Linked DNA regions of Homo sapiens: region 2 is linked to region 1. The links are contacts of gene promoters, found by promoter capture Hi-C in blood cells and fetal thymus (Javierre and others, 2016). All regions are on one chromosome and are shown on one strand. The core of a region is centred on a gene start or on the middle of the fragment in contact, and the rest is flanking DNA. Distances in the headings are between cores, read along the strand shown. Region 1 holds the start of SEMA5A (semaphorin 5A). Region 2 overlaps SEMA5A (semaphorin 5A).

Evidence for each region. Contacts are between HindIII fragments. The CHiCAGO score rates a contact against its expected background, and 5 or more counts as called.
Region 2: a fragment that was not itself captured here is called in contact with the fragment with the promoter of SEMA5A in region 1 in 2 of 17 cell types (M1 macrophages and M0 macrophages); the score reaches 6.2 in M1 macrophages.

What each region holds. Positions count from the first base shown.
Region 1 is chr5:9,543,451-9,549,524 of GRCh38, reverse strand. It overlaps SEMA5A (semaphorin 5A), which reads left to right and starts at 3,450. Exons shown (of 23, transcript NM_003966.3): 1 at 3,450-3,941. It overlaps SNHG18 (small nucleolar RNA host gene 18), which reads right to left and starts at 3,325. Exons shown (of 3, transcript NR_045196.2): 1 at 2,995-3,325; 2 at 376-535; 3 at 1-223. SNORD123 (small nucleolar RNA, C/D box 123) reads right to left here and starts at 698; the gene lies at 611-698. RefSeq lists a silencer at 3,327-3,516. The HindIII fragment of the contact is 4,033 bases long and covers 1,757-5,789 here.
Region 2 is chr5:9,356,463-9,362,399 of GRCh38, reverse strand. The region is part of intron 3 of SEMA5A (semaphorin 5A); the gene reads left to right. Among named protein-coding and RNA genes, the nearest start is that of SEMA5A-AS1, 150 kb to the left of the region's middle. RefSeq lists a silencer at 531-580. The HindIII fragment of the contact is 1,776 bases long and covers 1,850-3,625 here.

The DNA of each region.
Region 1 (6,074 bases), core at 2,201-4,700:
AGAACCTGACAAAAGAAACCTGTCTGGGGGCAACACAGCATCACCTGTACCCATAATCATGTTTTCCCAATACTTTGAAGTAGGTGAGCAATAAAGCAGCCCTAGGCAATCTTAGTGAGACATCAAACTTCACGTCTTTGTACCAATGTTTAGCATTAGGAAAAAGACTGATGGGCCTGATCAGATGATCTTTCCATTTCTTCAGTTTTTAAATGTCATGGATCTAAAAGAATGGAAACAGGGGTAAAAAGAGAACACTTATGGAGGATGATTGTAATGCATCTCATTGGTAGGAAAATGCAGTTAAGATGTAAATGTCAAGAGGCCACGATTTCTGGATTGAGGTTTTTTTCTATAATTTTAATACAATCTTACCACATCTTAAAGACCACAGATACCCGGCTTTCCTTTGAAGGTCACTCATGGCCCACAGTCATGTCCTGATTTCTTCCAGGTGATGTTCTTTCCAGAAAGCCCCCCTCCCTGTTCCTCTGGTCTGAGATGGCAGCTTAGGGATGTGGCTGAAATTCAAGCACTAGGGAGGGAAGTAAAGACAAGACAAAATTGGTCAATTAGTGCAGAAACATAAATGATCTTTCATAGTTCCGAACAGAATTGAGGTGAATCAGGAAATGGATGGCATTTTTCAAGTCACATGAATCAGCGCCCCAGAATTCATCATTTTCACCAAGTGTTTTGTTGGTTTCTTCATTCTTTCACATTGTGTGCATGGCTCACCTAAAACAGTTTAGGGAAAGCTATATTTTACTTTGAAAAGATAACTAAATACTTTTGTTTGTTTAAAAATGATCATCCTTAGTTTTATAATGTGATGAGAAGCAGCTTAATGCAGATAGCTTTCTAGCAAGCAAGACCTTTGCAAAGCAAAACAAACAAAAAACAAAGAAATTTTGTTTAGAAAAAAGAAATACTTGTGGATACCTCAAAATGACTTTATGAAGAGCCTGCTTATATGTTGGGTGCTCGGTGAGTATTTCACACAGATTACTGTCTTTCTCCTTTCAAGCAGACAGCTGACATACCCCTGCCAGGCTGGTGTGTCTAAGCTCCAGGTGAAGAGACTGTAGCTCAGAAAAGTTAAAGAACTTTCCCCAGATTAAAACTCAAAATTATATCCTCAATTTAGATCCATTTCACTTTAAACAAAGGATGCACTCTAAATTATAATTTGGTTTATTTACCTGCTTATTAGCAATTATTTTGTAATTAATCACAATTATCACTAAAATATACATCTTTTAACAATGCATTGGTGCAGCCTGTAAACAGCAAAACTGAATTCAACTCCCCCCTACATATATACAAAATTATGTAATTTATCCAGTTAAATGTTATGTTATCAGACCTATTGGGTCATGGTTTAGAAAGCTATCTTCTTCCCACTGCTTAGCTCTATATGCCAAGAGTTTTTTTGCTTTTTTTTTTTCTTTTCAAGTATTAACGGCAATGTTCAGAGGCAAGAAGAGGATTAGCTGAATACATTGGGTTCTAATTTCTGTCTCCCTCACCCTGGCCACGTAGGCTCCACAGGTCCAGGCAAAGGCTGCAGATCCAAGCATAAGGCAGCTTCCTCCCTACATCTTTCCCCCTAGAAGCAGCCAGGCAAGACCTTGGCCTGCCTCTTCCTCCCAGGGAGGCTCCTAGGCCTCTGTGCCACGTAGGCAAGATAATCGGAATGTCTGGAATGGAACTAGTGCTCTAAGTGCCAAGCAAGGGAAGGGAGAACGGTTAAGCTTTTCCTTCAGGTCCCCAGGAGCCTGCAGCTGCCACACAGCAGGCCGGGAGCCCCCGCCACAACCCAGGGAGGAATGCTTGCCAAGAAGGCCTGCCCAGCTACTGACACTTCCTCCCAGAGGTCTTAAAGGAAATCCCAGTAAGGCCTGAGTACCCAAGACAGCCAGATCACCCGTGCCAGAGACTGGGCATTTGGGGATGGGCTGGGCTTTCATAGAAACCTTCGGAATTGCTTTCACTTAATTCTTTTATTTTAAAAAAAAGTTCTAGAAAATAAAGACACATCGATAGCAATTTGTATTTCCATTGTCCTCTTAGGTCTGCATGGCTACTGTGCGAGCTATGACACCCTGCAGCCTGCAATAGCTTCTTTGTTTTATGGATGAGCTCAATGGAACCCTTATGGACGCACCGGACCATGCCCAGGACCAGCGAGGCCCATCCATACCCCACCACTGGCTGGAAGGGCGCTGGTGTGAACGTGGGTCCTTGCGGGGGTCCCTACCTCACTGCGGTCAGGAGGGGGCAATTCACACATTTCCTCATGCAGGGGACCTTCAAGCCTCCCTCTGAGGCGCAGACTGAGTAAAAAGGGCCCAGAGATACTGTCCCGCACCCCCATCCAGTGGGAAAGGGCCACTCAAGGCCAGTCAGGACTCCCAACCCAAGTTTTATGCCTTATACTCCTATAACTTTACCATTTGCTCTTTTCGCGAGGCTGACCCCCTCCCTCTCCCCCCCCACCGCCTCCTCCAGAAACTGAAGAACTGCAACAAAGTGTCCAATTATACACGTCTTCAAAGGTACTTTACTTGCTTCCCAATTATCAACTTTTCACCTGAGTACTTAGTAAGGCCCAAGGATCCTGCAAAAGTGCAACAAGGAATAATTGACACAGAATTGGACGAATGACTTTGACCATACGGGACTTCTCTCTTAACGCTCAGCGTGGCTACCTGGGGACGCCTTCTCTGGCCTCCCTGATTCGTCAGATTTGTTCATTTCCTTGACTTAATCCCGCTGAAATCGACCCGAACTAGCCGGGAGTCTCACCCCCAAAGTGCTCCTCCAAGAACCCGCAACGACTGACTCTCTCGTCTTCTTTAAGGAGTTTCTCCCTCAGAACGGATGAGGATGTCACACAGAAAGAACAAAATCACAAAGTTCGAGTTCCGGAGGACCAGACGGCCCCTGCCCCCCATCCCCCGGGCCAGATTTAGCCGAGGGAACCGCACGTACCTGAAGCCGAGGCCGGCAGAGAGGGAGCGCCACGTCTCAGGTCTCGGCCGGCGCCCCCCTCCGGGGTGCAGCCACGTCTGAACCGGGACAGCGGGCGGGGGAGCCGCAGAGGGACCCAGTGAGACGGGGGAGGGAGCCCCCAAAAGTCAGCGCTCGGCCGCACTCGCACTGGGGAGGCTGGAATGGAACTCCTGGGGTGCAGCGGGGCTCCCAGGAGCGAAGGTGGGGGTCCTGTACCGGGAAGGGGCGGGGCCCGGGGAGGGGCTCGGGGAGGTCAGGCGCGGGTGGGGCGCTCGAGTTTCACCCCGGCGGGGAGGAGGAGGAGGAGGAGGCGGCGCGGCGGCGGGGGCGGGGCAGGGGCGGGGCGGGGCGGGGGTGGGCCCAGGCTGTCCCCCGCTCCCCGCCCAGCGCTCTCCGCCCCGCGCTCTCCGCGCCCGCTCGCCCCGCGCCGATCTACTTGCCGGGAAGGCGGCGCCGGTGGCGGCTGCTCTCCCTGAGCCCGCTCCCGAGCGCTGCTTTCCCGCCGCGGGTGGGCTTCGCAGCCTCAGGCCAGCCGCGGCCCTTGGCCCGCTGCAGCCCCGGCCCTCCACCTTCCCCGTGCAGGGGCGGCCCGGCCAGTGTCGCTCATCCCGGGACGCTCCCTTCTCCCACCCAGGACTGCCCCGCGGAGCTGGCTTGGACACCCAACTTTGCCACCTCGAGGGTCGTCTCTGCTGGGCGCGAACCTGCCCACCCACCGGTTGGCCGCGCGCTCGGGGACCGTGCTCGTGGCCCCCAAGCCGGTGCCCCCATTCTGGAACTCAGCGAGTAGGGGGCGGCTCTGGGGAAGTGGCAGGGGGCGGCTGCAGCTGCTGCCTCCACTTCCCTAGCCAGGTGCTGAAGAGGATCCTCGGAGCCGCTCTGGCCCCCAGGCGCTGGATGACTGGCACCAGCGCTCCTCGCACCTGGTGAGCGACCCCCGCCCGATTCCTGCGTGGCCTTGGCAGGAGCCCCTGACCGCGCCGCGCCGCGCCGCGCCGCTGGCCGGGACCCGGGGACTGCAGCGGTCGGCTGGTGGGTGGTGCCGATCTCGGGTGGGATCCATCAGCAGGCACCTGGGCGGGGGTTGCGCGTACAGGATTAGGACGACCGTCAGTCCGGGGGCGCCCACAGTTGAGCTAGTGCACGGGCTGGAAGTTTGTGTACCCGCCTGTGCCGAGGTCTGAGCATGGAGAGGTAAGGAGCCGGAGTGTCGCGGTGGGCGAGACGGGACCCCTGCCCAACACCCGGAAAGGTGCGCACACTGGTCTGTGCCCGCCCCCGGCGCGCCTCCAGGCTCGCACTGCCGCGAGCCGGGGGCAGGGGACACGGAGGTCGGGACTTGGCGGTTCGGGAGCGGCCACCTCGCAGCCCCACCGGCTTGGGCAGGTTTTCCTGCTTTCCTTACAGGGGAACCGGGAGGCAATGGGACTTGGGCTCAACTCCGCCAAGCGCCTTGGTTAATGAAAGACACTAAGGCGGGGGATGCAGAGGCCTGGGGAACCACCAGCCAGGTGCGCTGCAGCTAGGCGAGCCCCTTTCACCAGGCATCCCTCCGCTGCTCCACGGATTTTGCACACCGCGGCTCAGGGTTTCAGACCCCAGGGTTTCGGGCAGATCGGGCTCCAGAGGGAATGGTTTCTCCCAAGATGTGCGTGGGAACGGTCGTGGAGGAGTGATTCCCCCGGCTCGCTCCCCGCGGCGGCCGGTGCCTGGCTTGGAGCGGTCACATCCCTGTTCCCCTGGCTTTGGCGGGAAGCGCGTTCACCTCCTCGCCCTTTGCTTGCTTTGTACCAGGATGCCGCGGCCGGAGTTGGGATTTAACTTTCCTGCGCCTGCGGCGTCCTCGGGATTCCCGGCAGGGGGCGCTGCGAGCGAGCGCTCGGAGGACGAGGCGCCACAGGCAGTTGCTGGGTCCTGGGCGAGTGGGCGGGAGTCCCAGGCAACAAACAGCAGAACCAGGCAGATCTTGCAATAATTTCATTTTGGGGGCCGGGGGTTGGGGGAGCTGATCTGGTGGCTATAGAGAGCTGTCAGCCTTGCTAGGAGAGGGGACAGGAAAGGTGGTGGCCAGACATAAATGCTCTAACTAGAAAGGTCTCTTCCAGAGAAAAAGATCGCTGTAAAGTCTTCCTTGTCTGGGCATCTGCCTTCCTTGTGACTGTTACATTTACTCAGAAAGAAATCGAAATTGAGGGAAGATAACGTGAGCTTTGTTTAATACCGTTCTGCTTTTTAGGGGTACTTTAGTTAACACATCAGGAGTCACAAATGATTGTTCTGGTTTGTTTTGAAGAAAGACAAGTTTTACGTCTAGCTTACCGAGAAGAGCTCTGTCATAATGGCTGAGTTTGGAATCAGCAGATATGTTATTAATTATAGAGGTAGTCTGTTCATAAGGAGACAGAAACACAAAACCAGGCTTTAATAAGAAAGATTTTTCAATACCTAATTAGGATTGCTGAATTTGTTGCTAATTAATGCCAGTTTCATTATTTTAGAGAGTGTAATGTTTATCATGACCACTTTACACAACTTCAGTTCAAGCAGATAATACCATTAAGTTATGTATAACTGAAATAATTTTCTTGTCTGTGCCTGTATTTACACCAAAAGAAACATGGATTTTTTTTTCCCCTCCAAAAGATTTCTTTTTCTATGTTTTTTTTTTTTTTTCATGAAAAATACAGCCCTAAGTGTAATTGTTTGGTTCACTTGAAACACAGATGTTTTTTCCCTTGAGTTTCTTTCTTGTAAAAACTTTGGAGATAGAAGCTTGCTCATCCACGTTGCTCCATGCAGTCACACTAAGCATCTGTATACTCATTGAAGTGTGGGGTTGACAAACTGACATCTATTTCTATGTGCTTTTAGCCAATATGTACTTTTATTAACAGGGAGAAGACAGATGATGCTAATCATTTTATGTCTTTTGTGAATTGCACTAACTCATTTGGTTGTTATAATGTCAAACAGCTGCGAGATCCCTGCTGCGAGTAAAGCTTTGGCCTCCTGGGTGGTAAAGCTTGTCTCTGTCCAGAGGAAATTTTTGAGACGTTCAG
Region 2 (5,937 bases), core at 1,488-3,987, 190 kb after region 1:
GCCGAGTTGATGGTTGAAATCTCTTACCCTCATATAATGGCATTTAAAAAATAGCGTCCCCAAAGCAAGAAAGGGACAGTTCCAGGGGACAGAAATAAAAAAGAGAGGTCAAGTCTGGAATCCTCAGTAGGAACCCAAGTTGAAATGCCTCTGGGGGCTGGGGCTTATAAACATGCTCAGGGATGGGAGAAGCAGGTGAGGCTTGAGCCTGATGAGCAGGGAGGCCAGAAACTGAATCCGGAAGCTACAGTGAGCTGTTCTACCTGCAAAAGGAAAACGCAAAAGAACCGCAGATTCACCCCCCAAGACGAGAAGAGGAAGATGGCTGTGGGTGGACATTGTCTCATGAAGACGAAACTGGGGCCTCAAGCCTGCTTTCTAGGTTCCCACGAGGTACCCAAATAAGAACCTTCCTTGCCAGCAGGGGCCTTAACACCAAATCTTCGAGTTTGAGAGCGCCCTCTAGTGTTCATGCCCATGGCAGTGTTCTCAGTTCTGGATTTGGGGCTCTTGTAAACACAGCTTCTTGGTGATGGTGAACTCAAGTCAAAGGGTACCCACTAATGAAACAATGAATGGAACTAAGCGCATCAGCAGAACAATCAGTGACAGAATTTGGACCCTAGATCCGCAAAATAGACCAACTCCCAACAGACTTGAAAGTGTTTAAAGAGATACATAGGTAAAGAGCAATTACTTTTGCACCAACCTAGTAGCATCAATATGGTCAGAGCAAAAGATCATGATGTGGATGAGACAGAGTATAGACGTAGTGAGAAAGAGCATTATGAGGTGGATGAAAATGCTGAGGAAATCTCTTAGAAGGTGATGCATAGGGAGGAACAGATTAACTCACATTTAAACCCAGAGTAAGACATTTATTAAGTATTTATCTAGAACTCACAACATATAAAAATATATGTGACTCAGTCCTACCTCACAGAAAAAATGGCGGTAATGCTGGTATAATTTTCATCACTTTCCCTCCTTTCTGTATAACAGAACCATGTCTTTGTCTTATTTTTAAGGAAGAAAGTATGTGATGCTGCATAGAATTGAGTTTTTGTTGTTGTTGTTGTTTGCAATTTTTTTTTTTTTTTTGAGACAGAGTCTCGCTTTGTTGCCCAGGCTGGAGTGCAGTGGCATGATCTTGCCTCACTGCAACCTCTGCCTCCTGGGTTCAAGTGATTCTCGTGCCACAGCCTCCCGAGTAGCTGGGATTACAGGCGCCCACCAACTTGCCCGGCTAATTTTCGTATTTTTAGTAGAGACAGCGTTTTACCATGTTGGCCAGGCTGGTCTCGAACTCTTGACCTCAGGTGGTCTGCCTGCCTCGGCCTCCCAAAGTGCTGGGATATCAGGCATGTGCCACTGCGCCTGGCCAGACTTGAGTTTTTAAAGGGCAAGATTTCTGTCTTATTTATTGTTATGCCCCTAAAAAATACTTTATAGATCTTGGTGGAGAGAATGACTATGTTTTTAATCCTTTGCTGTTAAAGAACTTAATACTCTCTCCCCTAGGATGAAGAAGATAGAAAATCAGGCATTCAAAAGATAAATCACAGACTGATAAAGAAAATTATAAAATGAAAAGAATCGTTTGTGTTTCTTGCTTTTCCTTAGAGTTCTAGTTTTCTTGCATGAATAATGTAAGTACTAATACATGGCTTCATGGATTTTTCAAGGATTCAGGAATGTGTATGTAAAATACCCACTGTGTTGCTCAGCCTAGTGCCGAGAATATTGTATGCACCCAGTGTGTCCTATTATGGGTGTCATTATTTTCATTGCAGTTTTATTATTTTCACCATCATCTGAAAAGGTATTTCCAAGAGTGTGTACTAAAGCTTCATTTCTTTTGTAAGCTATCGTGTTGTTTTAAAAAGCAAGGTACTGGACTTAATAAAAATTTATTTGCTTTGGGGGACACAATTGAGATAGTTCTTTCCTGCATCTCTATCTCATAATCTACTCTCTCTTTAGGGTAGTGTATATTTTCTCAATTATATGTATTTTGAAAAACACCTTTACTGATTTTTAGACTATTAAAATGTCTCTTTTGTGATATATTTAATCTATCCAATTTCTTAAGACCCTGACTGCTGTATTCCATCAGTGTCACCTACAGAATCAAATCCCATCCCTCTGGAGAACACTGTACACATTATCTCTGCAGGTGTGTGCATACCTGATGCTAGCTTTTGATTAATTTACTAACAGTACAGATGAAGTAGGATGACCTACTGCAGAGGTTAATACCTGCAAAGGCCAGTGGTTCATCTAGTGAGTAGTTCATTGAACAACACAAGAGATTCAAAGGCTATTGCTGAGAGATAATGTCACAGTTGAAATTCTTGTTTATCTTGAATTTAAAAACTAAACAAAACCATGTCTATATTTCTCATTATATTTCCATAAAACAAGGATAGCAAAAATTTTTAAATCTATTAGACAACCTTAGGAGAATCAGCCACCTAGTGTTGTCAAAGGAATAATTTTATCATTGCAGTTCTGAATTCTAGGTCATTCTCCCTCTTCTGCCCCAGTGGTTCTTAATCTTCAAAACTGGATGGACATTTTGCCTTTAAAGGGTAATTTTTTTCATAGTTTTTTGTTTCTTTGTTTTTCCTCTGCAAGGAAATATTTGAGAGTTACTCTAATTTGAATACTTAATTGCCTAACAAGCCAACATGGAGTGGTGGCAAATATAAAGACGGAATTAATTGGAATTGGTTAAATTTTGACTTAAAAACCAGCAAAATCAGCTGTAGGGGAATAGTTATTATAGGTGCAAAAGTTACATCATGACCTTCAGGAAAGGAAGGACTGACTCATTTCAGATTCCATAGATGTCTAACCTATCATCAACTCAGCTTCAGTCTGGTTATGCTAGGAAATTCCTTCTCTGGCCATTCCTTTATTCTGGCCATTATGTTATAAAGGGAATCTACTGGATAAACACCAAGCCAAGCTGAGCATAGCAATGTCAAGTTCAACAATGCCTCACAATAGCAATCCAACAACAAATGCTTACTGAGTGCCTTACATACAGTATGCCATTCAGTCTTTATAAAATTGTATAAAGTGACTATTTTTCCCCTTTTATGTAGCTGAGGAAAAAAACTAAGGAATTTAATTAACTAGTCCATGAACCCATGGTGCTTATGGAACAGAGCAGAGGCTAGATTCCTGGCCTGTTACACTGCAAAGGCCAGGTTCTCATATTCTGCAGCCTCTAGCTGGTGGGGGGAGGAGCTGCTACTGTGGTATTCCTGCTTTGTGTGTGTGTCCGTGAGTGTGTATGTGTCTGGTTTGGGTGCTGCTGCTGAGGATCTGGGGGCCTGTCTAGGAGAGGAAATGGACTGAGCCCTAATTAACATGTATGTGCTCACCTTTTTCACTTTGAGTTTTTCCATAGCCCCACATCCTACTGTCTTTGCAAGAGGGTCTGAACCAGTGCTTTGCTCCTTGAATCAAAAAATTTTGAGAGAAAATTATCTCATCATGTACCTCAATGCCTCAACCTAGAGCCTCCTTTTCTAGATTCCAGGCATATTTGTCATAGCATAGAGGACAGGTATGCTCCAAATGTAGTTCAAAGAACTCTCTCCTAGCATCCCAAGCTTTGTCTTATTTTCCAGCTTCGTTTCTTTCAACATAGAGGGTGCACTGAATGACTTATGTTCATTCATTCATCAATGTGTTTGACATTTATTCATTCAGCCACTCTTTGAACCCACATCCATTCATTCATTGAATCACATCTTTATCAAGTGCCTGCATCAGGGCAGCCTTTGCATTAGGCACTGGGAGTGTAGGACATAGCAGCGCACCTGCCATTTAGTGGAAAGATGGATGTGTCAATAGACAAATTGAACGCTGCAGCATAGGACCTGAGAGGCAAGGTCTGGACACTGTGTGCACAGGGAAGACCCTTCCTCTTGTTGAAGGAGATGCACAGAGAGGTTCTGTGGCAGCTGTCATCCCAGCTGGAGTCAGAACGACAGGCGTCAGACCACCAGGTAAGGAAAGGGAAGTCAAGGGAGCTCTGGGTGGTCCCTGGACCAAAAGCACTCACTACAGTTAGAACCAAAATTGCACAAGGGACAGCACTGAAAATGGGTTTGAAGGTAAAATGGAGCCAGTGTGGTTCTTAGTGGCTTTGGTCTTATTGAGGTTTCATGTTAGAGATGCTGACTGGAGCGCCCAGGCACCAAGGAACAGACTTGGCATAGGTGGACAACCAGTGATGGAATGAGAGGTATGGAGGGTCCAAACAAAAAGCAGTGGGGACAGAAGAAAGTGTGTTATAGAAGCTGGAGCAACAGGACTCTGAACATATGTTGGGGAGAGAATCAGTGCTAGATACTCCAGATGATCCACTGTCTCAGTCTAGTGTGACAAAATTCAACAATCCCTGTTTCTTAGTTGAATTTCAGCACTGGAAAATGCACTGATCATAATTCCTGTCCAAATAATGTTTGTTAAATAACTGTAGTTTAAAGTGAGAGAGAATTTTGTCCATAGTTATTCATCCATACTGTACGACATGACGTGGAGCTAAGTAAGTTTTGCCTTATATATCTTCAGATGTGAAAGATCCCAATGGCCCCTCATCTTCACATGGGGCTTTGGAGTGCTCACTCCTCTCTGTCCAGGAGAGGTGCCTCACCTGGGGCTTCCCGCCTTGATGTTACCAGGTAAAGTTTAGCTTGTTGGATAATAGTTCCTCCAACCCTCTCTTGGCACTCTAATCCTTTTAACAGACTCAACATTTGCAAAAAGGCTTATGTCTATTCCCAGAGTTTGCAGTTATACTGTCAGGATCTCCTCTCCCTGGGTATTTTTAATGGAGTAATGTTTATGTTTGGGGAGGAGCAAAAATAGAAATGTTTATAACTGGTGGGGAAAAAAGAACTAATGCAAGCTGGAGTCATGGGCTTGGTCGGTTGTTTGTGAAAACAATTCTCGCTAATTATAGCCCTTCTAGAATGACAGCATTATTATACTGACCATATGCAATTAGCTTGACTTTTCTTCCTCTGTGGATGAAAATAGAATGCACTGCAGTTTTCCCCTTTCATATTCCTAAGCAAGGACTACACATCCTTTGGTGGACACAGTCCAATTTGAGTCTTTTTTTAAGGAGTTCTAAAATCTCTGTATGGCATTAAATTTAATAGGTCCAGTATATCAAAAATAGAATTATAATTATGAAAAGTCAGTTAAAAGGAGGTTGGATGGTAAAATGAAATGAGATTTTTAATGGCTTGCCAAGAGTTGTAATTAATGAGATGGAGATTTGGCCATGCATGTGACCTTCAGGTAGGAAACAGTCAAAGCCCTGTGTGAATGGGCTCAGGAAGGAAAATGATTTTTCAGAAGGAATGGGTTCTCTATGTCTTGCAAGCTGGTAATTCCTCATCGTTCGGGGCTTTCTCTTGAAGTCAGGCTCACTGAATATGTTCAGGAGGCTGCTTGGAGTTCATATCAGGTGCATGAGCGTTTCAGTGGAAGAGACAAAGCTAGCAACACGGTGGAATCCTGGAAGAAAGGAGCTCTTACTTAGACAATAACTGCTTTATTTGATGGGTCACTTGTAATTTTGCTCATAACACAGAGCTGCTTGTCATGACAATGTTAATTCGTGGGTATGATCTACTTCAGTATCTGTTTTGCACAGTGAATTTCTTTGAACCCCGGTTGCAAACAAAGAAAGAAGAAAATAACACAAAAGCATGCTGGCTTGAGTGCCTAATGCCATCCTGCTGCACAACTTCCTCACACACCACACGGGCTCCCGAGGCTATAAAAATTGTTTTTGTCTGATTAAACACAAGTCCCTTTGAACTTGGTGGGGGTTCTTTTCCGCTTGCACTTTCTTCTAACTGTGTGCAGCCTTTTCTTTTTTTTCTGGTTTGATTTGGAATCCAAAGT